Regions from separate parts of the Homo sapiens genome. Here regions 1, 2, 3, 4, 6 and 7 are each linked to region 5. The links are contacts of gene promoters, found by promoter capture Hi-C in blood cells and fetal thymus (Javierre and others, 2016). All regions are on one chromosome and are shown on one strand. Each heading gives the region's core, a stretch centred on a gene start or on the middle of the fragment in contact. The rest is flanking DNA. Distances are from core to core; before and after follow the strand shown. Region 1 holds the start of GAST (gastrin). Region 2 holds the start of LOC124904004 (a long non-coding RNA gene). Region 3 has its middle 6.1 kb from the start of EIF1. Region 4 has its middle 8.5 kb from the start of LINC00974. Region 5 holds the start of KRT28 (keratin 28). Region 6 has its middle 12 kb from the start of KRT17. Region 7 has its middle 7.7 kb from the start of LINC00974.

Evidence for each region. Contacts are between HindIII fragments. The CHiCAGO score rates a contact against its expected background, and 5 or more counts as called.
Region 1: the fragment with the promoter of GAST here is called in contact with the fragment with the promoter of KRT28 in region 5 in 1 of 17 cell types (naive CD8 T cells); the score reaches 5.3 in naive CD8 T cells.
Region 2: a contact is called between a fragment that was not itself captured here and the fragment with the promoter of KRT28 in region 5, in 16 of 17 cell types (M0 macrophages, non-activated CD4 T cells, naive CD4 T cells and 13 more). The highest score is 33.3, in M0 macrophages.
Region 3: a fragment that was not itself captured here is called in contact with the fragment with the promoter of KRT28 in region 5 in 5 of 17 cell types (naive CD8 T cells, non-activated CD4 T cells, naive CD4 T cells and 2 more); the score reaches 9.2 in naive CD8 T cells.
Region 4: a fragment that was not itself captured here is called in contact with the fragment with the promoter of KRT28 in region 5 in 17 of 17 cell types (M2 macrophages, M0 macrophages, M1 macrophages and 14 more); the score reaches 25.7 in M2 macrophages.
Region 6: a contact is called between a fragment that was not itself captured here and the fragment with the promoter of KRT28 in region 5, in 13 of 17 cell types (M0 macrophages, non-activated CD4 T cells, naive CD4 T cells and 10 more). The highest score is 11.5, in M0 macrophages.
Region 7: a fragment that was not itself captured here is called in contact with the fragment with the promoter of KRT28 in region 5 in 7 of 17 cell types (M2 macrophages, M1 macrophages, M0 macrophages and 4 more); the score reaches 11.6 in M2 macrophages.

What each region holds. Positions count from the first base shown.
Region 1 is chr17:41,710,981-41,713,680 of GRCh38, forward strand. It overlaps GAST (gastrin), which reads left to right and starts at 1,351. Exons shown (of 3, transcript NM_000805.5): 1 at 1,351-1,407. The HindIII fragment of the contact is 7,695 bases long and covers 1-2,700 here.
Region 2 is chr17:41,654,341-41,657,040 of GRCh38, forward strand. LOC124904004 (a long non-coding RNA gene) reads right to left here and starts at 794. Exons shown (of 2, transcript XR_007065756.1): 1 at 1-794. RefSeq lists an enhancer at 1-605. The HindIII fragment of the contact is 2,956 bases long and covers 1-2,700 here.
Region 3 is chr17:41,693,596-41,696,386 of GRCh38, forward strand. No RefSeq gene overlaps it. Among named protein-coding and RNA genes, the nearest start is that of EIF1, 6.1 kb to the left of the region's middle. The HindIII fragment of the contact is 4,888 bases long and covers 1-2,791 here.
Region 4 is chr17:41,544,596-41,547,295 of GRCh38, forward strand. No RefSeq gene overlaps it. Among named protein-coding and RNA genes, the nearest start is that of LINC00974, 8.5 kb to the right of the region's middle. The HindIII fragment of the contact is 7,630 bases long and covers 1-2,700 here.
Region 5 is chr17:40,798,590-40,801,292 of GRCh38, forward strand. KRT28 (keratin 28) reads right to left here and starts at 1,370. Exons shown (of 8, transcript NM_181535.3): 1 at 855-1,370; 2 at 328-410. The coding sequence starts at 1,304. RefSeq lists an enhancer at 1-548. The HindIII fragment of the contact is 3,919 bases long and covers 1-2,703 here.
Region 6 is chr17:41,635,349-41,638,048 of GRCh38, forward strand. It overlaps the pseudogene KRT42P. Among named protein-coding and RNA genes, the nearest start is that of KRT17, 12 kb to the left of the region's middle. The HindIII fragment of the contact is 742 bases long and covers 1,062-1,803 here.
Region 7 is chr17:41,560,837-41,563,570 of GRCh38, forward strand. No RefSeq gene overlaps it. Among named protein-coding and RNA genes, the nearest start is that of LINC00974, 7.7 kb to the left of the region's middle. The HindIII fragment of the contact is 7,476 bases long and covers 1-2,734 here.

The sequences.
Region 1 (2,700 bases), core at 101-2,600, 910 kb after region 5:
GGGATCAAACTCTCCCAGAAAAGGTGGGGGCCCAATGACGCATGAACAGGAGCAAAATCTCTGCTCTCAACAGTGGAAAAGTAAAAAACAGCCTACGGCTCATTACATCTGGTCAAACCATGTGGAGGCAGCAGTTTATCAAATAAGTCAACAAGGTACCATTTTGTTTTCTGGTCCATCTTTGGCAAATGCTTTAGTCTGTTTGCTAACCATTTGAAGGTATATTTTGATACTGAAAAGTTGTTGGCTGGGCATGGTGGCTCACGTCTGTAATCCCAGAACTTTGGCAGACTAAGCTGGGCCGATCATGAGGTCAGGAGTTCGAGACCAGCCCGCCCAACACGATGAAACCCCATCTCTACTAAAAATACAAAAAATTAGCCAGGCGTGGGGGCGTGCGCCTGTAATCCCAGCTACTAGGGAGGTTGAGGCAGAAGAATCGCTTGAACCCAGGAGGCGGAGGTTCCAGTGAGCCGAGATCACACCACTGCACTCCTGCACTCCAGCCTGGTGACAGAACTAGACTTTGTCTCAAAAAAAAAAAAAAGTTGTTATGCAGATTACTAGCTCCCCTTGAAAGCAAAATGAAGGAGGCTTCAAAGGCAGGACCCTCCAGGAATTGGTTCTGCATAGGGGGTTTGCAAGTGGTGGTGCATGGGCAGCTGACCTAGAAGACACGGGGCAGCTACAAGCCAAACCCAGCCCAGCACAGAGGGCCTAAGGAGAAGAAGGCACCAAGGGTGTTCCATGGTAGGGGGAGGGTGAAAGGACTTCAGAGGTGACCAGGATGTGAGCCACTAGAAGGAGAGAACAGGGCCATCAGCCCACAACCCATTGCTCCTGGTAACACGTTATGTTTGCAGAGTCCAGTGGAGGGGACGGGGAATCAATACATCACCCCACATTCACACGCTTGCCAAACATCAGTGGATGGCGAAATCCACTTTCCCTGAATCTAAGCCCATCGGGTTCACTCCCTCACCTACCACCACCCACAAAGGTCCCTATGTAGTTCGAGAGATAAGTGCCAGGCCTCTGACCCCCAGGATATGGTGGGAAGCATTGCTCCTGACCCAGGGAGCTTGGTTCCTGCCCCTCAGGTACAGCTGGAGAGCTGCCGCCACCCCGCTCCAGCCCCTCACCATGAAGGTCAACTCCCCTATCCTTCCCCCACATCCTGGATGACTGACTGACACTAAATGAAAGGGCGGGGCAGGGTGATGGGCTGTACCTGTGCCCCACCCCATTCCTCTCGCCTGGACTCATATGGCAGGGTAGGGGCGGGGTGGGGGGACAGTTGGGAGGGACCTTGAGGGCTTTATAAGGCAGGCCTGGAGCATCAAGCAGAGCAGAGACCTGAGAGGCACCAGGCCCAGCCGTGGCACCACACACCTCCCAGCTCTGCAGGTGAGAAAACCCAGGAGGAGAGGGGAGAGGCTAGGAAGTGGGTTGACAGGTCCTCTCCCCCATCAAGGTACCAGGCCACTGGCCAGAGTCTGGGGCTCACCCCTTGGGGTCTCCAGAGCTGGGACCCTTTCTTTATCCCAGGATGGAACTAGGTCTTGGCTCCAGTACCTACCCTGGTATTCCCAACCTTGCCTTCCACCTGCCCTTCTGCCGCAGCCGGGGCCCTGCCCTTAGCCTATCCCTTCACACTCTTCCCAGCCCTGGGAGGTGAGGAGGACTGGGGTTCTTCTCCTTTCTCTCAGACAAGAAAACTGAGGCCCAGAGGCAAGATGTGACTTGCCCAAAGTCACAGGGATTATTAGGCAAGGCTGGGATAGGAATCCACAGCTCCTGGATCCCACTTCAAGCCCTTTCCTAGACCAGTGCCATCCAAAAGAACGTCCTATGATGCAGGAAATGGTCTTCATCTGCACTGTTCAATATGGTAGCCACTAGCCACGTGTGCGCTTGAAATGGGGTTAGTGTAAGGAAGTTTTTGTTGTTGTTGTTGTTTGTTTTTTTATATAGAGTCTCGCCGTGTCACCCAGGCTGGAGTGCAGTGACATGCAACCTCTGCCTCCCAGGTTCAAGCAATTCTCCTGACTCAGCCTCCCGAGTAGCCGGGATTACAGGCGCCTGCCACAACACCCAGCTAATTTTTCATATTTTTGGTAGAGACAGAGTTTCACCATGTTGGCCAGGCTGGTCACAAACTCCTGACCTCAAGTGATCCAACCCCCTCAGCCTCCCAAAGTGCTGGGATTACAGGCGTGAGCCACTGCACCTGACCATAATTTTTTAATTTAATTAATTTAAATGTAAAGAGCCACATGTGGCTGGTGGCTATAGCACTGAACAACACATGTGGTTAGCATCTGACAATACAGCTCCAGATCACTGATTTTTCAAACATTTCTTCAGCAGCAGAATTCTTTTCTTCCAAAGAAAACCTAACAGAAAACCTGATTATGAAAAACTTAATGGCCAGGCACCGTGGCTCATGCCTGTGATCACAACACTTTGGGAGGCTGAAGCAAGCAGATTGCTTGAGCTCAGGAGTTCCAGACCAGCCTGGGCAACATAGTGAGACCTCATCTCTACTAAAAATAAAAACAAAAAAATTAGCTGGGCATAGTAGTGCACACTTGTAGTCCCAACTACTCAGGAGGCTGAGGTGGGAGGATCTCTTGAGCCCAAGAGGTCGAGGCTGCAGCGAGTCAGGATCACGCCAGCCACTGCATTCCAGCCTGGGAG
Region 2 (2,700 bases), core at 94-2,593, 860 kb after region 5:
TGGGAAAGCTGCTGCCCTCGGCTCCTGCCCAGCCCTGACTCAGCCTAGGTGGGCCAGGGAAGCTGCAGCCTCAGCAGAACCAAGTCTCCCACCCCACCCTCCCCGCTGGCCTGCCTGGGATTGAACCAGGGGACAGGTCCTGGCAGGGGACTGAGAGTAGAGACAGCACCCCCTGGCCTCAGGACTTGGGGGAACAGCAGGGACTCTGTGGGACCTGCCCTTCTCCTGCACTGTCTGGAGGGTGCCAGCACAGCTCTGTCCGGGGGGGCTGCCCACAGCACATTTTCCCAGATGCCTGAGCCTCAGTTTCCTCATCCGTAAAAGGGGGCTAGTGACATTCCTGCCCACAGTGCAGGGCTGCAGTGGTGGAGGAGGTTCCCGGGAAGCATTTGAGAAGCAAACAGACCTCTTCCTAAGAAACAGAAGCGTCTGCCTAACCCCATGAGGCCAGGTGATCCCGTGCTCCATGCAGAAGAAACAGAAGCGTCTGCCCAGCCCCGTGAGGCCGGGTGGTCCCGTGCTCCATGCAGAGCAGGGTGACTCCATCATCCTCTGTCCCTGGCCCCAATACGGTTATTCCAAACTCCCCAGGACAAGGGCTGTGTCTCCCCCTCCGACTAGGCGGTCCCTGAAGGCTCGGGGCATGTCTCCCCTCAGACAAGAGGCTTCCCAGGGACAGAAACTCCATCCTCCTTGCTCCATCGCCCCACAGTCCCATGCCCTGCACTGCGGAAACCACAGGCCAGTGAAGGCCAGAAAAACTGCCCGTCCCCTCCTGGCGCCACCTTACCCCAGCCTCCCCAGGCCCTGACATCCACCTCCTTGCCCACCCAGCCAGCCCCCAAACGCGACGCTGGAGTGCCTCACGGTGCCCACCCAGACCCTGGGGATCAGGAGGCAGAGCCCCCCAGGTCTGGCGCTGGTAGAATCTCCCATCCCTCCCTGCCTGCAAAGAAAGGGCCCACTGGCCTCCCTCCCTGAGCCCTCCCACAGCTGGGCTGGCCAGAGAGAACTTTCTCCCTCTGCTCTCTTTCTCTGCTGTAGTTCAAGCACAGACCCTCTCACCCCAGCCAGCCCTTCTCCACCTTCCGGGCGCACAGTCTTAGGGGTGGAGCAGAGGCTGAGGTTGGGGGCCTCACAGTCAAAGGTGCTGAGACAACAGCCCCGCTGCCCTGTGCTCACTCAGAAGCTCCTGGGGAACTGGAGTGGAGGGGAAGGGTCCCCAAGCCCACAGGTTCTGGCTGCCCCTGCCACGTCCCCTCCCCCAGCCAGGCTTCTCCCAACTGCGGCAGGGCGTCTGGGCTCAGGTTGGGGTGCAGCGTTGGCAGGACAAACAGTCTCCAGTGTTGGGTGTTTGCCTCGGTTACCAAGGAGGGAGGTGAGGGGCCTGGCTCCCTGCCATGTTTGGGCCCCGGGCTGAAGGTGTGGGTGGCAGGGAAGGTGGAGGATTTGAGGTGGGGAGGCTCACTTCCCGCTCCCAGGGCTCGAGGGCAGGGCAAGCCAGCTGGGACTGCCAGATCCCTGGGCGGATTCAGACCTGCATCGGCCCTGCCTTTCTGCTGGCTCTGGGAAACTCAGTCAGGCAGGAGGAGACGCTGGGGGCGGGGCAGCCTCCCTTGCTGCTCAAAGCAGGGCTGTGGGCTGGAGGCTGGGCCCCGGCAAGTCAGGTACTGCCGTGGGTGTCCCAACCTTCCGGGACTGACGGCACCACGGCCTAACTCAGGCCGCCCGGGAGAGAGGCCTAGGAGCCCAGCTCTGGGCCCATGAATTTGGACAAGTCACCGCCCCTCTCTGGGCCCCAGTTTCCCCACCTATATAGTGTCAGGAGCTGGCCTGTGTAGTCCCACAGGGGCCTCCTTTGTTTTGTCCTCCCTGTCATGAGCTGGGCAGGTGGATGCTGAGGGGTTGAGGAGTTGGGCACTGAGCCGGGAGTTGTGACCCGGCCTTGAAGCCCTGGCTGGAAGGGCTCAGTACACATCCAGGCGGCCCTACTGCCCTGTCTGAGGCTGGCATGCAGTGAGTGCCCGGCTGAGTGCAGGAGCCCAGGGCTGTGGTCAGGAATGGCCGGGCCCTTTCTCCCTCTCTCAGCAATGATGAGAGCCACAGCCCAAGGAATCCCCTGCTGCCTCCTGCTCCCAGGTCTCCATCGCAGCCTCAGCATGACCGGCTCTGAGCAGGAAGTAGGGGAAGCAGGACAGAGGCTGGCCTGGCAGTCAGAGAGTGCACAGCCTGGCTCAGGAGGCTGGCAGGTCATCAGGGGCATAGAGCTGGCCCTCGTTGATGGGGCAGGGATGGCTTGGGGAGGGTGGAGACGCCGAGGCTTGAATTAGGGGGTGGGGGGTGCAGGTAGGGAAGAAAGGAAGAGGACTTGAGATTGTGACCAGGCAGTGCCACAAGGAACACAGGAGTGTGGGCCTTCCATGGGGAGGGAGGAAGGTGAGGCCAAAAGATGGCGGGGCAGGGGAAGGGACCACTTGCCTTGCAGCCCGGCCAGAGAGAGCGAGAATGAGCAGTTCCCACACCATGAAGACCTTTGCCCTGGCCCTGCTGGTGGCCCTGCTGTGCACAGAGAGACCCCAAGGTCTATGCTGCCACCAGTGCTTGGTGGCCCCAGCCTGGCACAGGCATGCCTGCCCCGCTGCCACATGCCCCTTCCCTGACAGGGTCTGCGTCTCGGGATATGAGAGACACAGGGAGTCT
Region 3 (2,791 bases), core at 206-2,705, 900 kb after region 5:
GTACTCCAGCCTGGGTGACAGAGTCTCCAAAAAAAAAAAAAAAAAAGCGCCCCACCTCCCAATAACTGTTCAATTGGCAATTAAATTTCAACATGGGTTTTGGTTTGGGTGGAGCATTCAAACTATAGCAATGATTCTAACCCCAGCATCAGGAGCTTGTCGTGTTAAAGGTCCTACAAAACCAGTCTGTTTCATGAACACAAAATAATTTAGCCTTGGAGCCAACCAAGGCTCCAAATACAGTGGCATTGTTCAAAATATTTGAGTGAATTTTTTTTTTTTTTGAGATGGAGTCTTGCTCTGTTGCCCAGACTGGAGTGCAATGGCACGGTCTCGCCTCACTACAGTTTCTGCCTCCCAGGTTCGAGCGATTCTCCTGCCTCAGCCTCCCGAGTAGCTGGGACTACAGGCACGTGCCACCACGACTGGCTAATTTTTGTATTTTTAGTAGAGACAGGGTTTCACCATGTTGGCCAGGATGGTCCCGATCTCCTTGACCTTGTGATCCGCCTGCCTCAGCCTCCCAAAGTGCTGGGATTACAGGCATGAGCACCGTGCCTGGCTGGGTGAGACTTTTAAATCAGTAAGATTTGACTGTAATGTAGGAGGTTTTTTCTTGGAGGAACTTCTAGAGCAAGGCGGGAGGCCAAACACACAAAATACTACAATCAGGATGAAACAGCAAGAGAAGAGAATTCCTTCTATGCTGTAGGTTGTGAACACGGCCAGGTTCTGTGCTAGGCTGTTCCATCTCATGCTTTTTAAGGACCTCCAATTCTCTAGGATGGGATTATTCCAAGTTAAACCATCAACATCTATTAAATCAGCTCTGTGAAGCCAAGCGAAACAAGTATCTGTGAACACAGAACTGAGGAAGTTGGTGAACACCCTTATCCACCTGATGTAACCTATCTCAGGCTGAATGAAGAAAAGTATAATTAAAAAGTCATGATGGGCCGGGCGCGGTGGCTCACATCTGTAATCCTAGCACTTTGGGAGGCCAAGACAGGCGGATTGCCTGAGCTCAGGAGTTCGAGACCAGCCTGGGCAACAACGGTGAAACCCTGTCTCTACTAAAATACAAAAAATTAGCCGGGCATGGCGGCGTGCGCCTGTAGTCCCAGGTGGGAGGCTGAGGCAGGACAATCGCTTGAACCCAGGAGGCAGAGGTTGCAGTGAGCCAAGATTGCGCCACTGCACTCCAGCCTGGGCAACAGAGCGAGACTCCGTCTCCAAAAAAAAAAAAGAAGGCATGATGGCTGGTTATGGTGGCTCATGCCTGTAATCCCAGCACTTTGAGAGACCAAGGCAGGCAGATTGCTTGAGTCCAGGACTTCGAGACCAGCCTGGGCAACATGACTAAACCCTGTCTCTACAAAAAATACAAAAATTAGCCAGGCGTGGTGTTGCATGCCTATGCTCCCAGCTACTGGGGAGGCCAAGGTGGGAAAATGGCTTGAGCCCAGGAGGCAGAGGTCGCAGTGCGCCAAGATGGCACCACTGCACTCCAACCTGGGTGACAGAGATAGACACTGTCTCAAAAAAAGAAAACAATGTGATGTGGACATTCCCAAGGTAAGTTGTGGAGCCTCATCTAGAACCCAGGACTCCCTGTGTACCCCTCCTCCCACCAGCTGCACCTGTACATTCACAATTTCTGTAACTCATTTTCCCGGTGGAGTGGGAGCAGAAATAAATAAATAAATGCTCATCTTACAGAGATTGTTGAGTGCTTGGTATCTGTAGTACACTACAGGGCATGTCAGGCAGACCCCCTGCACTCAGGGAGCTGACTGCCTGGTAGGTAGATGTAAGACCAGCACACAGCCTTGACGCAGGACAGAAAGGGACCCAAAGAGCCACAGGATCTCTGAGGACTGCGAAATCTTCCCCACTCCCATCCTCAGCCAAGGGGGCCAAGAAGGCTTCATAAAGGAGGTGCTGTCTGAAGCCAAGCATTTCGAGCAGAGAAAAAGAGTCACACCCAGAGGTGAAAAGGCACCTGGAAGCCGGCGCAGTGGCTCACGCCTGTAATCCCAGCACTTAGGGAGGCCAAGGCCAGCAGATCACTTGAGGTCAGGAGTTCGAGGCCAGCCTGGTCAACATGGCGAAATCCCATTTCTACTAAAAATACAAAAATTAGCTGGGCGTGGTGGCGGGCGAGATCGTGCCACTGCACTCCAGCCTGGGCAACAGAGCGAGACTGCGTCTCAAAAACAAAAACAACAACAAAAAAAAGAAAGATTGATTATGCTGAAAAGGTCCCTCAGCTCTCTGCTCCTTAGTCCTCCTCTCCCACCCCAAACCCCCCCAGCCCTCCTGCCCCCATCCCCACACGCTGCAACAGCTACACGCAAGGACAAACTGAGTGTTTCTTAAGATGGTGTTATGAAGACAAAATGAAAACTGGTCAGCTAAAACTGCATAAGAAGCTACAAAACAACTTTAGAACCTATTCCAATTGCTGTCAACTCTATGAATAAGCCAGAAAAACACATAGCATATTTGGAGAACTGAACATGACCCCCTTCCTGGTTTATCAGCCTCGATGGTGCCCCCTTGTGGCAGTAGTGTAAAAACACAGTTTACTGTGCACAAGGCTTTACAATTTTTCAATTAAGAGCTCCTTGACCAATTTTTAACTTTTTTTTTGGTGGGGGGACAGAGTCTCACTCTGTTTCCCAGGCTGGAGTGCAGTGGGGTCTCCTGCTAGGCACCATGCACCCTTGTTGCCCCCTCCTGCTCAAGCCTCTCATTTCTTCCACTCTCTAAATGCAAGCGTTCCCAAGGG
Region 4 (2,700 bases), core at 71-2,570, 750 kb after region 5:
ACAAGCTCCCAGCAGATGGGAGAGGGGAGAATGGGGGAGGGAAAGATCTACACAAATAGCTACAAAAGAGAGGCCCAGCAGTATAGCGTAGCAGGCAAGATTAATCAGTGACCATGTAGCAAGGCAGTGACAGGCCTGGCCTTTGAAAAGAGCCACGCCTTGGGGTGAGAGCCACTCATTAGCCAGGCCCAGGTATTCACCTCCCTAAGCTCCAGTTTCCTCCCCTATAAAACATGGACCATAATCACACCAGTGTGGCATGTGGTTTAGAGCCCAGGCCTTGGAGCCAGGGTGGCCTGGGTTTGATTCACAGAGCCACCATTTTATTTCAAAGCCATGTCATGCAACGGCCGTTACCTCACCTGTCAGAACCTCAGTGTCCCCGCCTCTGAAATGAGGCTAATAACACCAACCTCAGAGGGCTTGTGGGGGAATAAATGAAAAATCAGGTGTGAAGCACAGTATCTGGCACTCCATAAAATCAAGAGCTATTACCAGCAACATGAAGGTTAAATGGCATGTGTCAGTCATCACCGCAGGGGACAACCACTCAGCAGGTGTGGGCTGGGAGGAGCTTTCTGTTCTGTTTTTTGGGTTTTTTGTTTGTTGAGATGGGGTCTTGCTCTGTCACCCAGGGTAGAGTGCAGTGGCGCAATCCTAGCTCATTGCAGCCTCAAACTCCTGGGCTCAAGTGATCCTCCTGCCTCAGCCTCCTCAGTAGCTAGGGCTACAAACATGCACTACCATGCCTGGGCCAATTTTTTTTTTAAGAGACCTGTTCTTGCTATGTTGCCCAGGCTGGTCTTGAACTCCTGGGCTTAAGCAATCTGCCTGCCTCGGCCTCCCAAAGTGCTGAGGTTACAGGTATGAGCCACCATACCTGGCCAGGTATGGGTTTTTATAAAAGATTTTGTGAGAGGATAGGCACAGTGGCTCACACCTATAATCTCAGCACTTTGGGAGGTCGAGGCAGGTAGACTGCTTGAGTCCAAGAGTTCAAGATCAGCCTAGGTAACATCTCTACAAAAAATGATCAGGGCATGGTGGTATGTGCCTGTAGTTCCAGCTACTCGGGAGGCTGAGGTGGAAGGATTACCTGAGCCCAGGAGGTTGAGGCTGCAGTGAGCCATGATCACACCACTGCACTCCAGCCTGGGTGACAGAGTGAGACCTTGTCTCAAAAAAAAAAAAAAAGATTTTTGTGGGAGTCGCTCACTGCTCCCTGTGCGGTGGGGTGGAGGGAAGGGGAAAGTGTTCTTCCAAAAAGCTGAGATTTGAAGAATGAGGAGTGGGAAGAAAAGGGCTCGGGTGGTGGGTGTTTCTGGCACAGGGAAAGCTGTGGGAAATGGCCTGGCCAGGTGAGACAATGCGGGGAGTTCAGGGAGGGAGCAGTTCAGTGTGTTGGAGGCGTAACACTGGGAGAGTTGGAGGCCTGGAGGCTGGGGAAGGCAGGGGAGGGGACAAGTGCTGCCTGCGGGCCTGTTGGCAGTGGGGGTGTGGGTGGATAAGAGACGGGCCAATGGAGGGCCTCACGGAGGGGACAACTGCGAGGGTCCGACTCACCATGCAGGTCCTGAATAAAGCCGTGCTGGGCCTGGAGAAGTGTGGGTCGGGGAGGGATGGACACTGAACAGCAAGGCTCACCTCACATCCAGGAGGCCCCCCGCCAGCCCCGCCATGCCACAGGCACTGACGGTTGCCACTAAGCCTCAGAGGCCAACTGCATTTATTTGGAAATGGAGCAAGGCACTGGCCATGTCCAGGCTGGCTTTCCAGCCCTGTCCCCCAAAATCACAGTCTTCCTGCAATTACTCACAGGTGCTGGCCAATAGTGCTTAGGTTCTCAAATGCCTGCTTCTACTCAGGCTATCCTATCCACCTGCAGGGTCCTTCCCCTCAGCCGTCACAGGTTGAAACTGTGCCTCTTCACCATTGCCTGGAGTAGACAGAATAATGGCCCTCCAAAGATACGCCAATCGGAACCTGTGAGCATGTACCTTCCATGGCAGAAAGAGACTTTGCAGATGTGATTACATTAAGGATCTTGGAATGGGGGTTGGGTTATCCTGGATTATCCGATTGAGTCCAAAGTAATCACAAGGGTCCTTGTAAGAGAGAGGCGAGATGGTCAAGGTCACAGAGAGGAGCTGGGACCATGGAAGCAGAGGTCAAAGTGAGGCACTTTGAAGGAGGAAGATCCCACAAGCCAAGGAAGGCAGGCAGCCCCTGGAGGCTGGAAGAGGCCAGGAGACAGACTCTCCCGTAGAGCCCCTAGAAAAAAAGCATTTCTGATGACACCTTGATTTTAGCCCATAAGGCCCATTTCAGATTTCTGACTTCCAGGCCTAGAAGATAGTAAGTTTGTGTTGTTTTAAGCCACTGAGTTTGCCACCACTTGTTACAGCAGCAACGTGGAACTCATACATCACCTCTTCCTTCAGGCCTTTGTGATCCCTGGCACTCGCTCTTCCTCCTCTGAGCCCCTCTGGTGCTTTACCTGACCCTCTCCCAGGCACTGTCCTCTTCCTATATGGGTGAGAATTCATTGGCTCTTATCCCCTCTACCAGCCAGTGAGCTCCTTGAGGCTGGGGTCTGGCTCATATTTGTGCCCCCTTGCCCAACCACTGGTTGGGCTGATAATTCTCCCTGGATCCTTAGATCTACTCTCCACCTTCCTCTGTCCTGCTCTGTACCTGGAA
Region 5 (2,703 bases), core at 120-2,619:
ATTCCAATAGCATAACCTAGTTAAATAAAAATACACCATTTTGGAATTTTATTTTAGTTAACGTTTTTCCTTAGTTGACTAATGATTTACTGAGCATCTACTTTGTGCTTGGCAGTATTCTAGGCAGGCAGAGAAATATATTGATATTTTGTCCCAGGAATATAATAACTATGTATAAGTTGATTGTAACATTATAATACAAATCCTTTGCTTCCTTTTATCTTTTAGGTGATAGTTCATTCTACTTGGGATGAAATAGAAATTTTATTTAACAAATTAAATAAATAGAAACTTTTTTCTAGAGCAGGATTTTCTTCTGTCACTTACTTTAGCCTGAAATCATCAGCAGCCAGTCTGGCATTATCAATCTGCAGAATGACATTAGCATTAGTAGTAGTGGAGGAGATAATCTAGAATAAACCAAAACAGAGAACACAACAAGTAAGTATGCTTTTATGTGATTCATTATTTCAGGAAATGAAAAAGGTTACTCAAGTTTTTGCATAAAAATTTCACCTCCTTATGTAATAATCAAAATGTTTCAAGTTTAACTTTTAAAAATTAAAGACATGGTTTTATTTATTCTCATATATTCCCCTAAATTTAGAACTACAATACTTTTTTATTCATATGCCTATGAATGTACTTCAACATAAACAATGGAACTAATAACATTTTAACTACATTAAAATTCATGAATCAAAGGGCCCATTTTTGAATAGTAGGAAGAATTGTTTATCTAAATAAATAAATACAAGTTATAACAGTCATGAAGCATTTCTTATTGTATGTCTTTTGTTAGGTATTTCTTAGTTTTAAATACTTGGGTTAGTTCCAAATCTGTGATTTCTCACCTTATTCTTAAGATCCTCAATTGTTAGGTGATATCTGCTATAGTCATGATCAAGTCCACGGCAAGATCCAGGTCCGTATTTTTCATACCAACCCTTGATTTTTCTCTCTAATTCAGCATTTGCCTCCTCCAGAGCTCGCACATTATCCAGGTAGGATGCCAAGCGGTCATTAAGATTTTGCATGGTCACCTTCTCATTTCCAGAGAGGAGTCCCCCTTCGCTTCCAGCAAAGCCAATACAAGCAGCATTTCCAAGGGCACCACCAGCATGGCTCCCACCAGGAACACTGCCCAAGCCCCCTCCCAAGGCACAGGAAAATTCACTTCCAGCAACAGAGCCACCACATGCACTGCTGCCTGCAAAGCCTGCACCTCCATTGAGGGGTCTGACAGATCCAGCTCCAGACCTTAAGCAAACATGCCTGGATCCATTAGAAAATTGGAGAGACATGGTGTTTTGAGAAATGTTCACCTTGTCTATGCAAAACTGTAATGTCCCAAGAGAACAGAATATCATGCACTGATAATTTCTTTGGGTTTTTATATATCATTATTGGGGCGTTCCTATTTGAGTTATACATGCCAAAAGCAAAATGGCATCACTTAGATTAGCATAAAATTATGTATAATTGGGTGATTTTAAAAATAATTAATGTCTAACATCCCTCGGTGTTGCTTTGGGCTATTTCTTATCTTAAATATAATAGGGTTTGTTCTATATTAAGTTTATTAATTTAACTTCTAATTTTGAGTGAGTAATCCTTTCCTTTCATCTAGACCCTAGGCATATACTGTCATTATCTGGCGCCAGGTATTATCAAATTTTTTATAAAGTTAAGTAAGATTATGATAGAGTTCTGTGAGGTACAGTAGGGTCTCAATTACCATGGAGGGGTATAAAGGACTGCTAATTACAGAAACAGATATTTTATCCCACCAGAAAAAAATGTGTTATTTAGAAAACAGAGGCTAGTGACATCTCTGTTCTTACCATGATTATAACATCTATTTATTATCTTGGACAATGACACAAATATTGACCTATTATTTTGTTTAAAATAGCATGGTTATGATGTTTGGTGCTCTATGCTAAGTGCTAAAATGAAAGACATAGTGTTAACTAAATGCAGAAGTGAAAAATGCGTGATTACAATCTTTAAGAAATCTATTGTCAGGTCCAGACAGGGGCTGGATCATGGTTAGCTTTCTGTGCTGGTCTAAAGAGTTTGTAATGAATCCTAAGTAAAAAGCAGAGGGCAAAATGATCAGGTTGAAATGAAACAAGGTGGTCAATTACAAGGTTGGAATAATGGTCCAGGTGAGAAGGATGAAGGCAGTGGGGATGCAGAGAAGATGGCTTTGAGAGCATATGGTAATATGATTGAATTTGGAGAGTAGGGAATAAGGCAGAATTGGGGATAACTCTTAGGTAATTAATTTTAGATTCTGGGAACTCATAATATTCACTGAGATGGGGAATAGAGGAGGAGGAAGACACTGAGTTTAGGTTTGGACCAACTGGATTTGAGGGGTTGCCAGAATGTTCCAGATGAAGGTGACTGATAGCAAGAATGACTGTTTAGAATATGTATACTGAACTGGAAAAATACTTGACTAGCAATGAGTAAAAGAAAATTGGAGGGTCCAGCTCTCATTTATAATGATGTTCAACTGCATATTTGGAAGTAATCCTGGTGCAGGAATAGAAAGGATGATGATCAGATTGATGTGGGTTTTGGGATTTGAAGACAGGTCCAGAAGAAGGAAATAGTGGCAAAGAAATTTCTGGTGTTCTTGAGAAAACAATTGAGGCGATTGACTGTATGATCATATAGCAAGAAGAAAGTAAA
Region 6 (2,700 bases), core at 183-2,682, 840 kb after region 5:
CACAGAGGAGCAGGATCTGTGCAGGAGCCAGCGTCATGCCCCGAGGAACGGCCCCTGCAAAAGAGCAGCATGATCCGCAGGCTGGTGGCTGGCACCGCTCCACCCAACAAGGAGATTAGTATCCTAATCTCCGCGGCACTAATGATTTAGGTGCTGCCAGGACACCGGCGTCTGCACCAGGCCTGTCTGAATGTGGAGCTTCCCAGGGCAGCCAGGGCCCGCGGAACAGGAGAGGGGAGAGAAGTGCATGGGTGGCCTGGGCTCTCTGCCCGCATACGGGGACAGGGAGGGAGTTGGGTTTTCCATGTGGCCCAGAGCTCCCAGATGAGACCACACTGCTGGAAAGACTTCCTGCTCAGATAGTGGGTGGTCTCTCACGGAAAGTGCCAGCTGGGGACTGTGCCAGCTGGGAATGGCAGGAGCTATCTGGAAGAGAGCGGTTGAGCCCTGATTTTACTGCTCCCGCCCAGCCTGTGAAGGTGCTGGGCGGGGATGGGGGGAGGTTCAAAACCAAGGCTAGAGAGCAAGGTCAGACCACCATGAGCACGAGGTTAGACATCTGGAAGGACTTCCTGGCAATCCAGGACTGTCTTCGGGGAGGAGAGAGACCCAGTAAAACCCGTGCTCACCTGAGCCGCCAGAGTCAAGACTGCACCAGCAGGCACTCACACACGAAGAGACACGAAACCAAGACCCTCCCCATCCCCATCCTCTCCTAACAACCCCTCCCTTCCCAGGCCCCATCCTCCCCTAGGCCAGCTGGGCTACCCAGGTGGGCCTCACTCTGGGCTCACAAAAGGGACTGCCCCGCCTTCCAGCAGCAAATGTGGGGCAAAGCCAGGGCCCTAGGGAGGGGGCCAGGTCGTGGGGTGCCACCACCCCTCTGCCTCCCCGTAGAGCCCACACCGCCAGTGCTCACCCTGCCTGGGAACCCCACTTCCAGAGTACCCAGACCTTAGTCTTGAGGCCCAATTTGAAGGAGCAGAGAGTTTATTACTCTTCTTTCTGCCTCTAAAATCACCAAGGCCTCCAACCCCCAATACCACCATTTAGCCCCCACAAGCTTCCTCACCCCTGACAGGCTTTGGGCCGCGAGCCTGCTCCTCTTCCTCTCTGGGCCTCAGTTTCCCCACGCCACTGACCCCCCCCCCAGGCCCCTTTGCTACTGCTCGTTAGAGGCTCTACTGCCTGTGAATCCCCCTCTAGCCCCCAACCCAGAGAAGCCTCACATGCTGAGGACAGGCCGGGCCAGCTGGGCCAGCCGGGCAGGAGGGCACAGCTCAGATCTCAGCAGAGATAGAAGTGGGACCCCAGGAAGGCCTCCCTGGCCCTCCAGAGCGTGGGGCCACTCCCTGGCCAGGGCTAGGAAAATGCAAACATTCCTCCTGAGACCCTCACAACAGTGCCTTGAGGACACCAAGACACAGGGTGCTTGAGCAGCGGGCAGTCGGGCAACCCAATGTTGGCATCAGAGCCGGGCCTGAAGCCAGGGCCTCGGCAGCTCCCACTCTCCCAGCCAGGGAGGAAGGCTTGACAGGGGCCGGCTGGAGGGCCACACAGAGGTCCTCTGGGCTGTGGCACATCCTGTCTGGGCCTGTCCTCCACCCCCAGCAGGGAGAGATCCCTGGCACCCGCAAGGGGCAGCCCAGGCCTGCAGCCCCGGCAGCGGCAGCAGCTTGGCCCCCATGGAAGACAAAGGGGTAAAGAAGGAGAGGTCCAATGGCTCTTCCAGCCCCAGAGGCTGCTGGAGCCCAGCGCAGGTGGGAGAGGGGGAGGCCCAGGGAGGTGGCTGGGAGAACTTGAAGCTTCCCCCAGTGCCCTGGGTGCCAGCCCCACCTTGACTCCCCCTCAGTCTCCTCTGCAGAGAGTGCAGAAAAGCCAGCATGCTGGAGAGCGCAGCACAGACAGGACCTGCCTGGAATTTGAGCAGAGCTAGGGTTTGGGGACAGTGTCCCCTAATATCACCCCTACTATGTTGTGGGGAGGCAGAGGGCGTAGAATGATCTGGGGCCCTATGGAAAGGAGATGTTCAATAGATGCATTTTTTTTTACTTTAAATAGAGATGGGGTCTCACTATATTACCCAGGCTGGTCTCAGGCTCCTGGGCTCAAGCAGTCCTCCTGCCTCTGCCTCCCAAAGTGCTGGGATTATAGGAGTGAGTCACCACGCCCAGCCAATAGATGCATATTGATATTGACAAGGTTGACAAGGTCTGGACAGGATCAGTGGCTCACACCTGTAATCCCAACACTTTGGGAGGCCGAGGCAGGCAGATCACTTGAGGTCAGGAATTTGAGACCAGCCTGGCCAACATGGTGAAACCCCGACTCTACTGAAAATACAAAAATAAGCCAGGCGTGGTAGTACCTGTAATCCCAGGTAGTCAGGAGGCTGAGGCAGGAGAATCGCTTGAACCCGGGAGGTGGAGGTTGCAGTGAGCTGAGATCGTCCCACAGCCCTCCAGCCTGGGCAACAGAGCGAGGCTCCATCTCAAAAAAACAAAAGAAAAAACAAAAAGACAAGGTCATGCCCCGTCTGCCCAGCTGGCCTTGGCTCCTACGAGCCCCCGCAAGGATTAACTGTCAACCCTTAGGATGGTGCCCACCCCATACCCCACACCCCTGCCCAGAACCAGCGCGGGCTGTATGCAGCAGGTGCTCTGTGAGTGCTTGCTGAATTGTTAGGGTCATGGAGCCTGA
Region 7 (2,734 bases), core at 30-2,529, 760 kb after region 5:
AATCCTGTGGTTATTTCCCAGTGTCTGGAGTGGACTAGACATAGTCAGTAAAAGGATCCTGATCCTTACCAGTAAGGATTACGTGGTTTAGAAAAAGGACCAGCAACACTACATCTCTAAGGGAATGACAGAGATTAGTGCCACATGAAAGATTTGATGGGCCAGGAGTGGTGGCTCATGCCTGTAATCCCTGCACTTTGGAAGGGCAAGATGGGGAGAGAACACAGGAATGTAAGATCAGCCCTGGCAATAGAGTGAGATCCCTGTCTCTAGTTTAAAAAAAAAAAAAAAAAAAAAAAAAACCTCAAAAATTAGTCTGGCGTGGTGGCACACGCTTGTAGTCCCAGCTACTTGGGAGCCTGAGGTAGGAGGATTGCTTGAACCTGGGAGGTCAAGGCTTCAGTGAACTGTGATTGTACCACTGCCCACCGGCCTGGGCAACAGAGAGAGACCCTGTCTCAAAAAAAAAATGATAAATTTAGGGTTAACTTGCCTAGTTTTTCTGTGCAGAACATGAACAGATGTTAGAGAATAGCCATGAATTATTTTACAATTTATCACATGGTTGTTCCAACAGCAGTCGTTGATCCAGATTGTGTCCCTTTTCTAAAGCAGATCACCATTGACCCTGGCACCTGCTGTGGGAAATTCTTTTTTCTTTATCCCAATAAACAAAGAGTACCAGAATAAATATGCTTTCACCTGCAGAGAAAGCAACACGGTCATTCCCCTTATCCATGGTTTCGCTTTCCACAGCTTCAGTTACCTGTGGTCAACTGTCATCCAAAAATATTAAATGGAAAATTCCAGAAATAAACAATTTGTCAGTTTTGAAGTGTGCTGCCCTGAAGAGCATGATGAAATCTCACACTGCCCCACTCTGTCCAGCCCAGGACAGGAATCATCCCTTTGTCCAGCTCTCCATGCTCTATGCACCACCCACCCACTAGTCGTCGCTTAGTAGCTGTCTCAGTTGTCAGATCAACTGTTGCAGTATTGCCGTGCTTGTGTTCCCTTATTTTACTTAATTACGACCCCAAAGTGCAAGAGCAGTGATGCTGATAATTCAGATTTGCCAAAGGGAAGCCACAAAGTGCTTTTTTTTTTTTCTTAAAAGGAGTTTTGCTCTTGTTTCCCAGGCTGGAGCACAATGGCGTGATCTCGGTTTACCTCAACCTCTGCCTCCCGGGTTCAAGCGATTCTCCTGCCTCAGCCTCCCAAGTACCTGAGATTACAGGCATGCGCCACCATGCCTGGCTAATTTTGTATTTTTGGAAGAGACAGTGTTTCTCCATACTGGTCAGGCTGGTCTCAAACTCCTGACCTCAGGTGATCCTCCAGCCTTGGCCTCCCAAAGTGCTGGGATCACAGGCATGAGCCACCGCGCCCAGCCAGCAAAATGCTTTCTTTAAGAGAAAAGATGACAGTTCAAAACTTACTACGGAAAGAAAAAAACCATACGCTGAGGTTGCTAAGATCTACAGTATGATAAGATATTTTGAAAGAGAGAGACCACATTCAAATAATTTTTATTACAGTATATTGTTATAACGATTCTATTTTATTAGTTATTGTTGTTAATCTCTTGGTCTGCCTAATTTATAAAGTAAACTGTATCTTAAGTATGAATGTGTAGGAAAAAGCATAGTGTAGATAGATTTAGGTGCTATCCACAGTTTTGGGCATCCAGTCAGGATCTTTGAATGTATTCCCTGTGAAATAATGAGCAACTACTGGGCATCTTTTCCAGGATGTGCAGAGAATCAAACTTGGAGGGTATGCAAACAGAAAAATTCCCCAAATCACACTCAAGGATTGCTCTAGGAACACACCACTGCTGTCACTTCTGGCCACCAAAATTGAAGCTCAAACTATGGATGATGGGCACTGCATGTCTTTGCCAGAGCCGCTGCTATTGCTTCCTCAAAAAATCACATATCTCTGCCCAACCTTGTTCCTGCCATAAAAAATTCCACTCAGCACCTCCTTTAAATCAAAATCAAAGTCCTTCACTCCAATGGGGTGCCATGGTTAAAAAAAAAAAAAAAACGTCTTGTGCGGGCGCACCTGAGTGGCAGGGCTGTCAGGGGCCCATGCCCTAGATGCAGGTGAGCTCGGAAAAGCAAGTTTCTGACCTCTCCCTTGGGGAGCTTCACACTTAAGGTGGAGAATTTCCCAAATTGAGGTAGAGAAAAGATACATAAAATGGGCCAGGCCTTGTGGCTCACACCTGTAATCCCAGCACTTTGGGAGGCCGAGGCAAGTGGATCACCTGAGATCAAGAGTTCAAGACCAGTCTGGCCAACATGGTGAAACCCCCGTCTTTACTAAAAATACAAAAATTAGCTCAGCGTGGTGGCAGGTGCCTGTAGTTCCAGCTACTCAGGAGACTGAGGCAGAAAATCGCTTGAACCCGGGAGGTAGAGGTTGGATTGAGCTGAGATCGTGCCACTGCATTTCAGCCTGGACGACAGAGTGAGACTCCGTCTCAAAAAATAATAATAATAATAAATAAAATAAATAAAAAGATATGTAAAATGGTAGATGAGGAAGACAGCAGGTAGCAGAAAAAGAACCAGAGAAGAGTAAACAGTTGCATATTAACAGCGGAGCGCTAGAAAAGAGATCACAGACTCTCACTGCTCAGGTGTCTTGCTAGAGCCACCTTTGACCCAGAGACACTGATGACCTGCCTGCTCCCATATCCACAAATTCCAGGATCTTGAATCCCCCT